3 separate regions of the Homo sapiens genome follow, and all the other regions are linked to region 3. Evidence: promoter capture Hi-C in human tissues and cell types (Jung and others, 2019). All regions are on one chromosome and are shown on one strand. The core of a region is centred on a gene start or on the middle of the fragment in contact, and the rest is flanking DNA. Distances in the headings are between cores, read along the strand shown.

Region 1 (3,808 bases), core at 1,293-3,792, 610 kb before region 3:
CTCACTCTTTCTCTCGTTTTGGCCGACTACACCATCTCCTATTATGGGAGTTTTTAGATGCTGCTTGCCTTTGGAGAGGTCCTTATTCCCACTACAACTCTGAGCTGTAGGGCAGCTCCTATTAGCGGTATGTAGATTGCCACTAGTCTTAGTCAGCCCCACACTTTCACGGAGCACACAGTTCACACTAAGAGATCTGTGACTCCCCACTTCTCAGCTGATGAGCCTAATTAGGCCCCTCCATTCACACACTTTCACACACTTTCAGTTCCTATGTTCATAATTGGGGTGGTGAGCCACTCTTGCCACAAGAAGGGAAAAAGGGCAAAGGGTAAAAGGTCACTCACTCATCAAGAAATTCACACCAAATCAGAATCAAAACCAAAACCAAAGTGCCGATAAATGCATACCTGTTCATCAAGCAATTCAAGCCAAGTCAAAATCAAAACCAAAACCAAAGTGCAAATAAAGGCACACTGTGGGTGATCAGGCCACGCTTCCACTCAAATGGAGTAGGCAAGTTCCTAAGACCAGTCTTACCATATTCCAGATGTCCAACTCCAAGCATCAGTTCCTTCCCAGTGTTCAGCCACTGTGTTGATCCTCCACGGGGGCCTGCGGCACACTGCTCTGATGAGACATTCCACCAGGGCAAATGCCTACCTGGGAGTGTTCTCAGGATCTGTGTCACTCAAGCCAGCTAGGGTCACCCAAAGGGATGCTCCACAGGGCAGGCAAAAGCTGCCTAAGGGGCTGCCTCACCTTGCTTCCTGGTCAGGGAACCAAGAAATGTAGCAGGACGTGCTACAGACAAAACTCCTCAGACACCGGGTTAAAGAAGGAAGCGGCTTTATTCGGCCGGGAGCTTCAGCAGACTTGCATCTTAAGAGCTGAGCTCCCCAAAAAAAAATTCTTGGCCTTTTTAAGGGCTCACAACTTTAAGGGGTCTACGTGAAAGGGTCACAAGCATGGGGAATGTGACTGGGGGCTACATGCATCAGCTAACAGAACAGAAAGTTTTACAATGCTTCCTCATACAATGTCTGGAATTTACAGATAACACAAATAGTTGAGGTCAGGGGTTGATATTATTATTATTTTTATTATTATTATTATTATTTAACCATCAGGGCAGGGTGGTGGCCCCAAGGTCATCTGGCTATTTATCTTACTTTTTTTCTTTTTAACTTTTTGCTTTCTCCTTTTTCTCTTGTTTTATAAACTAGGCAAGGCGGAGAGCAGCAGGAGAACTGGTGGTCTCCTTCCTCACTATGACTTAAAAAAAAAAAACAAGAGTCCCTTCAAAATATTACTGCTCATTGACAATGCACTTGGTCACTCAAGAGTCCTGACAGAGAGGTACAAGGATATTTTCAGACCTGCAAACACAACATCGCTTCTGAAGCCCATGGTTCAAGGACTAATTCCAACTTTCAAGTCTTGTAATTTAAGAAATACATTCCCTAACACTATAACTGCCATAGATGGTGATTCCTCTGATGGACTAGAAAAGGAAATTGAAAACATTCTGGAAAGTATTCATTCTTCTAGATGCCACTCTAGAACATTCATGATTCATGACATCAAAATATCAACATTAACTGTAGTTTGGAAGAAGTTAATTTTAACCTTCATAGGTGATTTTGACGGGTTCAAGGTTTCAGTGGAGGAAGCAACAGCAGATGCGATAGAAATAGCAAGAGAACTAGAAGTGGAGCCTGAAGGTGGGACTGAATTTCTACAATCAAGGTGGGACTGAATTTCTGCAATCTCATGATAAAACTTGAACAGATGAGGAACTGCTTCTTATGAAGGAGGAGCAAAGAAAGTGGTTTCTTAAGATAGAATCTACTCTTGGTGAAGGTGCTATTTACATTGTTGTAATAACAATAAAGGATTTAGAGTACTGCATAAACTTAGTTCATAAAGCAGCAGCAGAGTTTGAGAGTGTTGGCTCCAATTTTGAAAGAAGTTCTATTGCAGGTAAAATGCTATAAAACAGCATTGCATGCTACAGAGAAATAAAAGGAAGAGTCAATTGCTTCCTTTCTTTCATAAAAGGAAGAGTCAATTGCTCTGGCAAACTCCATTGTTGTCTTAACAAACTGCCACAGCCACCACAATCTTCAGCAACCACCACCCTGATCATTCAGCAGCCATCAACATCAAAGCAAGACCCTTCACCAGCAAAAAGATGATGGTTTGCTGAAGGCTCAGATCATTGTTAGCATTTTTAGCAATAAAATATTTTGAATTAAGATATGTACATTATTTTTTACACATAACACAACTGCACACTCAATAGATTACAGTGCAGTGTAAGCATAACTTTTATATGAATTAGGGAAAAAATGTATGTGACTCATTTTATTGCAATATTTGCTTTACTGCAGTGGTCTGGAATGGAACCCACAATATTTCTGGGGTGTACCTGTCACAATCTGAGCTTATATAGTACTTCATAGTTGTAATTTATTTCATTATTACAATGGCCTTATGATGTTAGTATATTATTGTCCCACTTTCACAGATAAATGAATTGATGCACAGAGAGGCTAAACATATCATCCCTGAAAGTCACACAGCTATTAAGAAACAGAGCTGATTTGGAACTCAGGATATCTGGCTCCAGAAACTGTGCTCTTAACACTGGGCAAGGTGTCATTTATTGACCAACAGCTGGTCTCCCTCACCACACCTTGCTTAGTTTATCATTTGCCTTCAGAGTACTTCACAGTCTCCTGCAGGCACCTGCCCACCTCTCTAGGGGGCTGTTGGTGCCTGGGCCGACTGGCCCACATGAAGGCTCTAGGATCACACCACTGGTGACTGGTTAAGGGGCCCACGTGATGTGGTCATTAAAATAAAACTTGGCTTCTGGTGCTGGCCTCATAATATACTCTAGCTCCTAGCAAGACAAGTTTCTCTAGGCCAGGACCCCCCTTACATTTTACCCCCAGAATCTAGAGAGCTGTCCCCATTCTCAGACTTTCCACTAATGCTGGGTTCCCAAGCACCTTTCAAGGGGTGAGGGGAATTAAAGGAGATGTGCTCATGAAAGTAGTTAAAAATCTGTAAATCACAAAGAGACTATATGTTATTATAAAAGTTTTATGTTTTTATAAAGCCTCCAGAATAGTAGAAAACATGTATTCTTACAAATATTTGTTCAATAATGAATCAATACATATATTCACCATGAGCTGAAAATGCTTCAAAACTTTTAAAAAATCTAAACCGCAATCAAGGTCTTGTGATAGCAGCAACAGAGCTCTAATGCGATTTGGGTGACTTTGGACTACCTATCTTTACTAACATTTACCAAACTCAGACTCACATCTTAAGAAATTAGAAAATACACTCCATCTTTGCTATTCGCTGATTCAAGGTTTGTGAATTCATCTGCTTACTAAAATGTATTTGTCACTCCAAAGTCAATATTCACAGTGTTTGTACAGTCCTTGCAGACATGGATAGAGAGGCAAAAAATTTGAGAAACCCAATGCACACTCCCAGCTGAAGTCAAACCCTCTGCCTTCTTGTTTCAGCTCTCACACTGCAAACAAGTATCCTCCCCACATTCCATTTGGTGCCATGTTTTTTGCATTTTGGGGGGCTTTTTGTTGATGATTCTGCTGTTTAAAATAACACCCTAACTATGGTGCTGTCTATGGTTCCTAAGTGCAAGAAGGCTGTGATGTTATTCAAGGGGAAAAATACATGCATTAGATAAGCTTCCTTCAGACACGAGTTACAGTGCTGTTGTCCATGAGTTCAATGTTAATGAATCAATGATATGTATTAAGCA
Region 2 (3,423 bases), core at 714-3,213, 590 kb after region 3:
TATCGTTCGGATTTGCAAAGCAATGAGTAGGTTTTATAGGGATGCCACCCATGCACAGCCTGCTGGTAAGAATAAGAAGTCATTTTCTGTTAACTATGTAATTCTGAGTAAAGAGATTTGACTAGGCATTGAAATGGAAACAATAGCAAAAATTAAACTTGCATAGCTGAACATATGATGAGTATTCTGAGAAGAAACAAGTGATTTTGAAAGGATGGCATCTTTTAAAATCTTAATTTCAGTTGGCAGAGAAAACCCAATGGGAATGTCTGCAACACCCAGCCAAGAAGAAGAAAAGATCCATGAGTCAAAAAAACAGAAAAAAATACCCCCAGAATCTGAGGCTAGGAGTCCCTTACCTTCTTCAACTGCAAGTAAGCCACAGCTTTTGCTTTCATACTTTTGGTTTGTTTGCTGCATTATTTCTTCCTGTGGCCATTGCAGGAAGACTATTAAATTATTTTTACAGCATATATTATGTTATACCACATGGACTGCTTGTAAGCTGTTATCTTGCTTTTTTATGCCTTAAGTTTTATATTATAAAGAATACATATATTTTTAAATGTGTTTCTTTGTCTTAAATTTAATGTTCACCCAGAACAATGAGTTGAAAAGAAGATAGTATTAAATTATAACATCAATTGGACTATCACCTACAAAATATTTTATGAATATATTTTATGAAAAACAGTAAATTCTCACTAAAGTCTAAGCAATGAAAAAAATAATTTCTATTTCTCTGGTATAGAAACTGAAGCTTAAAAAAAAGTGCTCTCGGTCCCAGAGGCTTAAATTCCTAGTTTCTATATTGGTCCATTTGATAATTTTTGTTGCTCTTAAATGTATTAACTTTTATCTGACGGGAAAGTATAATATATGATATCTGACAAATTCCGTGTATCAGAATCTAGTCATCTTTGGATAAGATGAAATAGGGGACCATCTCTGGGGGACCATTTTTTTAAAACCCGTCTTGGGAGACAGATAAATTATAATGTTACCTTTAAAAAAGTGATTTTTAAAAATTAGTTATTGGGTATGCTAGCTTTTCTTTTAGATAGTAATATAATAGACGTCTCTTGTTGACCATCCTAAGCTATTAGCTCATGAACATAGGGAAGAGAAATTAGCCTTTTGATTTTTGCTGCAAAGGACTAGTCTCAGTTTTTTATTTCCATGTCATGTCTTGAATCCATGGAGCAGTGTGAAGAATCACACTGAATGAGAAATATGTGCTTAGTTAAAATTTCTCACAGCAGAATTCAGTCTTGTGTCAGGAAGTAATGGTATCTAAATCAGGGATGGCCACCTCAAGTAAAATTTGAATTGGTTGAAAATAGCATGCTAGCCGAAATCCCTGGGGGATAGATACTTTTTTAATGAGTGGCAAAATGCTTATGAGAAAACCTTCTATATGTCTTATGAAAATTTGTTCTGGCAAAAATATTTTTTAAATGTTACCATTATGAAATTTTTAAGGATTTTTTTTACTGAGGCTGGCCAAGTAATTTGTAAAAATGACAAAATTAGGCTTCATGATAAACATAGACCTTTTCAAATAATTATTTCATTTAATTCAACATTAAATATGAATTGTGTGCCCATTAAATGTCAGATGTTATAGGTAAAACAGACTTGGTCTCTACCCTCTTGAATTTGATAGGTGAGCTGTTCAGATAAACATTAAACAATCACACAAAAATGGAAGGCTAAAACCTGATAATTGAGATGAAGGAAATATCCAGAGCATACGAGACACAAAATAAAATTTAAGTCAATAATTAATTGTAAAAAGACTTATAAGTTCTTCATTGTGGTTAATGGCAATACAGCAGAAATGGAGAGTGGGCCAAAGACTGAGAAAATGGAGACTGAGCTCAGTTTCTTCATGAACTTTTTAAAACTTTGACCTGTCACAGATTTTGGCCCTGGATATGAAATCTGGGAAGTCCAGATGATGAAGCTCCTCTAAGGCAAATGCCACTTATAAAATGCCCATGATATGGTTAAATTTTGCCTTCTCTGATTGCAGTGGGAGTGGTTTTATAAGCACCCATGATTTTAAGTGAGGAAAAAATGTCTTTATGTATGAATATTTCCCTAGAAGTCTCTCTCTCATCTGTTACTGAGTAATTAGATCATGATTCCCTTTAGTTGTCTTTTTTCTACCTCTATCAAAGGACTGCAATAGTTAAAAAGTTGCTTCTTGCAAGAAATACCTTCCTCTTGGTTTTGCACCTTAGCTGTCAAGACAGATTTGGGTTGCATTAGCCATTCATATTAAAATATGTTAGTTGAAAAACACTTTAGAAAACTTATTTTCTACTTTTAAAGATATCTAAAACCAAATATCAGTTCCTTAAGAATGAGACTATGTTTGTCCACCCACTTTTGGGATAGGGCAAGATGTATAGTTTTGGGAATGAGAAATTATAGACAAAATAAAACTGTTCTGTCTTCATTCAAAATGCTTATTTATTAAGAAGAAAGATGGAACTTTTCTCATCTACATCAAAAGGGCAAGAGGATTTAGAACTTAAAATAGCACATATATGATAAATAGTTATTTTGTAGTAGTTAAGTAGAGATATAGTGTCATTAAATTTGCAAGGCTGTCATTTAGGTCTAAACTGCATTATGATATTAATTTTGTTAGGGTGGTGGGGTTGAGGAAGGAATCTTATTTTTTTAGAATAATCTTTTTATTATGGAAAATTTTAAACACACACAAAGGTAGAGATAATGGACAAATGAACCCCCATGTACCCATCACTCAGCTTCAACAATGATCAACATAGACGTAGTTCTGTCTTAGTTATGGTCCTTCCTGCTATGCCCTACAATGTCCTCATTTAATTATTTTAAAGCAAATATAAGACACCATATTATTCATAAATACTTCAGAAATGCCATATTTTAAAAATTATTTAAGTGAGAATATACATTACTTCTGCATAATTTTAAGTTTGGAAACACTGCATTTAAACACATTCAAACCGAATATAAAAAGAGAAGACTTATGATTTGATGCTCTGAACTGAAATTGCCCTTAGATATCTTTCCGGCAACTACCTATTTCTATAAATGAGAAAATCAAGACCCAGGAAGATGAATGTTATGCAGGTCTCAGCTCCAGTCGCTTGTCTCTGTGCATGGGCACTTGAACAGTGCAGTGCAGCCATCCTGCCAGTCCATCATCTGTTTGTGGTGGCATGTTCTACAGTGTTGCCAGGCAAATCCTAATCTGTGCCAAAGTCTCAGCCATGGCATTTTCTTTCCTAAATATGTTTAGGTGCCAATACTTTAAAAACAAATAAACCTGGGCAGAAAAAAAATCTATTATTAAGTTGAAGTCTTCCTTAAAAACAGCAGTCAGTAAATTCTGAAAAATCTTGGGTAGTCATGTTTGACTAAAAATAA
Region 3 (3,460 bases), core at 102-2,601:
ATTAGCGGGGCGTGCTGGTGAACGCCTGTAATCCCAGCTACTCAGGAGGCGGAGGCGGAAGAATTGCTTGAACCAGAGAGGCAGAGGTTGCAGTGAGCTGAGATTGAACCATTGCACTCTAGCCTAAGCAACAGAGCGAGACTCTGTCTCAAAATAATAATAATAATAATTCACTTTTGGAAACTGTTCCCTACTAGATTTCAAACAACTTGGGAATGAAATCCTATTTGAGTTCATCCATGTGTATTTCCAACAAGTTCAGTGTCTTACTTATAAATAGTACTTGAAGGAATGAATACAACTTTTTCTTTATGTAGTTATTTTACACTTGATTTAAAGGAACTTTAAAAAGACGCAGTTATACCTAGAGACAGACGCCCTCCAAAAATTGTCTCACCTTCATTATTTGTGATTACTAGTTAGAGCTAGCAGAAAAAACTCCCCAGCAAGTGAAATGTCAAACCACTACTAAAAGAAAGAAAAAGAAAGGAACAGTCTTTTCTATATTTAAGTCACTTGAGAGAAAAAAGAAGAGCTGGTATTTTTCGAGTAATAATGTTCGTATTTTGTGATGCAGATACTCAATTTTACATTCTAAAAATACTACTTTTATAGTAGGAAGCAGTGTACGTTTGAATCCTGGCTCTGCCGCTTGTTGCAAGAAGTTGGTCAAGCTATCGGACCTTGCTAAGCCTTCCCTGTTGTAACTGTAAAATGTAGTAACACCATTTACCTCTAGAATGGCTGTAAATCGAGTAAGGCTTATTTAATACAGCGTCTGGCATACACCAGGCATTCAGTATGGCGCCAGTCATTAACAATAGGTGGTTACTAACTGCGATTCACTCAAAACAATACAGATGCACACGGATGAGAGTTCACACTTTGAGTCTTATTCAAAGATTGGTTATTAGCCAGGCATTTTGATAGGTGCACTCAGTTTTATTTTCGTACCTCACGGTGTATAATTACGCAAGCTCAAAAGCTAATAATTGACAGCTCACTTTGCTTTACTCTGGGTTCTGCATTGACCTCAGAGAAGACACGGCCTAGACAAACAGGCAAGGCCCAACACTGACTCAAAAAAGATCCTTTATTTAACGCAGTGTTTTTAGTGCATGCTCTCGTTTGGCGAAAGAGAAGGTTTTACGTTCAGAATATTAAAAGGGACCCCGAGGACAAAGCAGGATCTCGGAAAATAAGATCACATCCCCAAACAACTAAAAGGACAACCGAGACAAGGTTGCAGACTCCCACGCCTCTGCCCGACTCCCGGGCTTGCGCGCGCGGCTGCAGCGCGACAGGGGCGGGGCCACGGCCACAAAGCAGCCCCCGAGACCACGTGGCCTCCGAGCAGCTCAGGGCGCCCTTGAAAGTTCTTGGATCTGCGGGTTATGGCCGGTCCCTTGCAGGGCGGTGGGGCCCGGGCCCTGGACCTACTCCGGGGCCTGCCGCGTGTGAGCCTGGCCAACTTAAAGCCGAATCCCGGCTCCAAGAAACCGGTAAATGGGTGGTGGCGGTGCGGGGAAGCGCTGGGGACCCGGGCGATGAAAGCGGCCCTTCTCTCCCTGTCATTAGGAGAACTGCCCTTTCTAGGAGAGTGTTGGGATGAAAATAGGATTGCCTCATGCCTGTTCTCCCTTACTGCCCAGAGGGGAATCTTTCCACGTGCACCCAGTTCTTTTTTTTTTTTTTTTTTTTTTTTCCGAGACGGAGGCTTGCTCTGTCGCCCAGAAGCAATTCTCCTGCCTCAGCCTCCCGATTAGCTGGGATTACAGGCGCCCGCCATCACGCCCGGCTAATTTTTGTATTTTTAGTAGAGACGTGGTTTCACCGTGTTGGCCAGGCTGGTTTTGAACTCCTGAGCTCGCGATCCGCCTGCCTCGGCCTCCCAAAGTGCTGGGATTACAGGCGTGAGCCACCGCCCCCGGCCGCACCCAGTTCTTAATAAGGTTATGTTTACAAGTGTAAAGATACCAGGCGGAGAAGCCGACTCGCTGAAACTACAAAGTCTTTGTGTCATTCAAAATTGGATTTAAAATGAAATGTTTTCCCGGTGTATCTTTATGTTCATTGGAAAGATCTGAATTGCAGCTGTCCCTTCTGCAGTTGACTAAATAGAGCTAGAAAAGCTGTTAGTTGACAATGTACTGTCATTTTAACAGTCAGTTCATTGCTTTCGTGAAATGACAGGAAATTAAGGAAAAGATTTTCTTCAACAGATCAGTTTTCAAATAAAATTACAGGTTTATGAATAACATTTGCATATTTACAATTAATTTCAGAATAAATTCTTGCCTATCATTTAAAATGTTGTGAATATTTAATTCTAGGATTTTTTTCGGTTTCAACCTATTATAAAAACCTTATCCCCATCCTAACCTTTACTTTTTGCTTTTGAAACACACTTGGACTTTGGTTACAAGAATTAGCTATGTCTTTAGAGGCAAAGATGCTAACAGAGTGTGTGGAGCTTTGAGCAACTAGGACATGCTTGACACAATAGTGTTAGCTAGCACTGGTGGGCTGGATGAATGAACAGCATAACAAAAAGTGAAGAGCTGAAATGCAGTTTTTAGAAATGCATCTGAAATTCATAAAATTCTTTTTTTTCCTTGCAGGAGAGAAGACCAAGAGGTCGGAGAAGAGGTAGAAAATGTGGCAGAGGCCATAAAGGAGAAAGGCAAAGAGGAACCCGGCCCCGCTTGGGCTTTGAGGGAGGCCAGACTCCATTTTACATCCGAATCCCAAAATACGGGTTTAACGAAGGACATAGGTAAGGTTGCTTTGCTTTTTAAAGTACAGGTCCCCAATTTCCATTAAAAAGCACCTAAAAATAGTTTGGTAGAAATTTTGGTGGAAATTGTAAATTCACTTTGAAGCAAACTTTTGCTACTGTTCCCCTGAACCATTTTTTGGTAATGAAATCTTGCCTGGATTATTAAAAGGAAAAGAGGCCCAGACACTGCACTTAGACCTGCAAAATGGAGATTCTAATGCCAGCTCTAATGGTTATTAAAAGAGTGAGCAATAATAGACAGTATACATAAAAATCTGGCCCACTGTAGTCACCTAATAAATGATAACTACCATTATTACTTTGAGCTCCATAGTAAGTTAAATTTTCCACAGATTTATTTGTGTAAATAAGTGAAGTAAATGCTTAGAGAGGGAAATAATTTTTAGTGGAACAAAGGTGGTACAGGTTTGTTTTCATTACCCAAAATCAAGCAGTATTACATGTTTGTGTTACACTCAAGAGGGTTTTGTTTAGTTAAATAAAATTGGTGGAGGAAAACACAAGACAAAGCTTTGAGTTGATTTCGAGAAGTTACAGGAAGATGAGAGTTTTCCAACTCTTACATTCTTGTTTTACAGTTTCAGACGCCAGTATAAGCCTTTGAGTCTCAATAGACTGCAGTATCTTATTGATTTGGGTCGTGTTGATCCTAGTCAACCT

What was found. Contacts are between HindIII fragments. The study calls those that stand out against the background at their distance.
Region 1: a fragment that was not itself captured here is called in contact with the fragment with the promoter of MRPL15 in region 3 in 1 of the 25 tissues and cell types used here (lymphoblastoid cells).
Region 2: a contact is called between a fragment that was not itself captured here and the fragment with the promoter of MRPL15 in region 3, in 1 of the 25 tissues and cell types used here (dorsolateral prefrontal cortex).

What each region holds. Positions count from the first base shown.
Region 1 is chr8:53,524,406-53,528,213 of GRCh38, forward strand. LOC124901947 (a long non-coding RNA gene) reads left to right here. Exons shown (of 2, transcript XR_007060913.1): 2 at 1,227-2,258. Among named protein-coding and RNA genes, the nearest start is that of LINC02984, 2.3 kb to the left of the region's middle. The HindIII fragment of the contact is 3,762 bases long and covers 662-3,808 here.
Region 2 is chr8:54,726,103-54,729,525 of GRCh38, forward strand. It overlaps a transcript of RP1 not described here. Among named protein-coding and RNA genes, the nearest start is that of RP1, 110 kb to the left of the region's middle. The HindIII fragment of the contact is 3,872 bases long and covers 28-3,423 here.
Region 3 is chr8:54,133,890-54,137,349 of GRCh38, forward strand. It overlaps MRPL15 (mitochondrial ribosomal protein L15), which reads left to right and starts at 1,352. Exons shown (of 5, transcript NM_014175.4): 1 at 1,352-1,502; 2 at 2,622-2,776; 3 at 3,379-3,460. The coding sequence starts at 1,395. The HindIII fragment of the contact is 21,249 bases long and covers 1-3,460 here.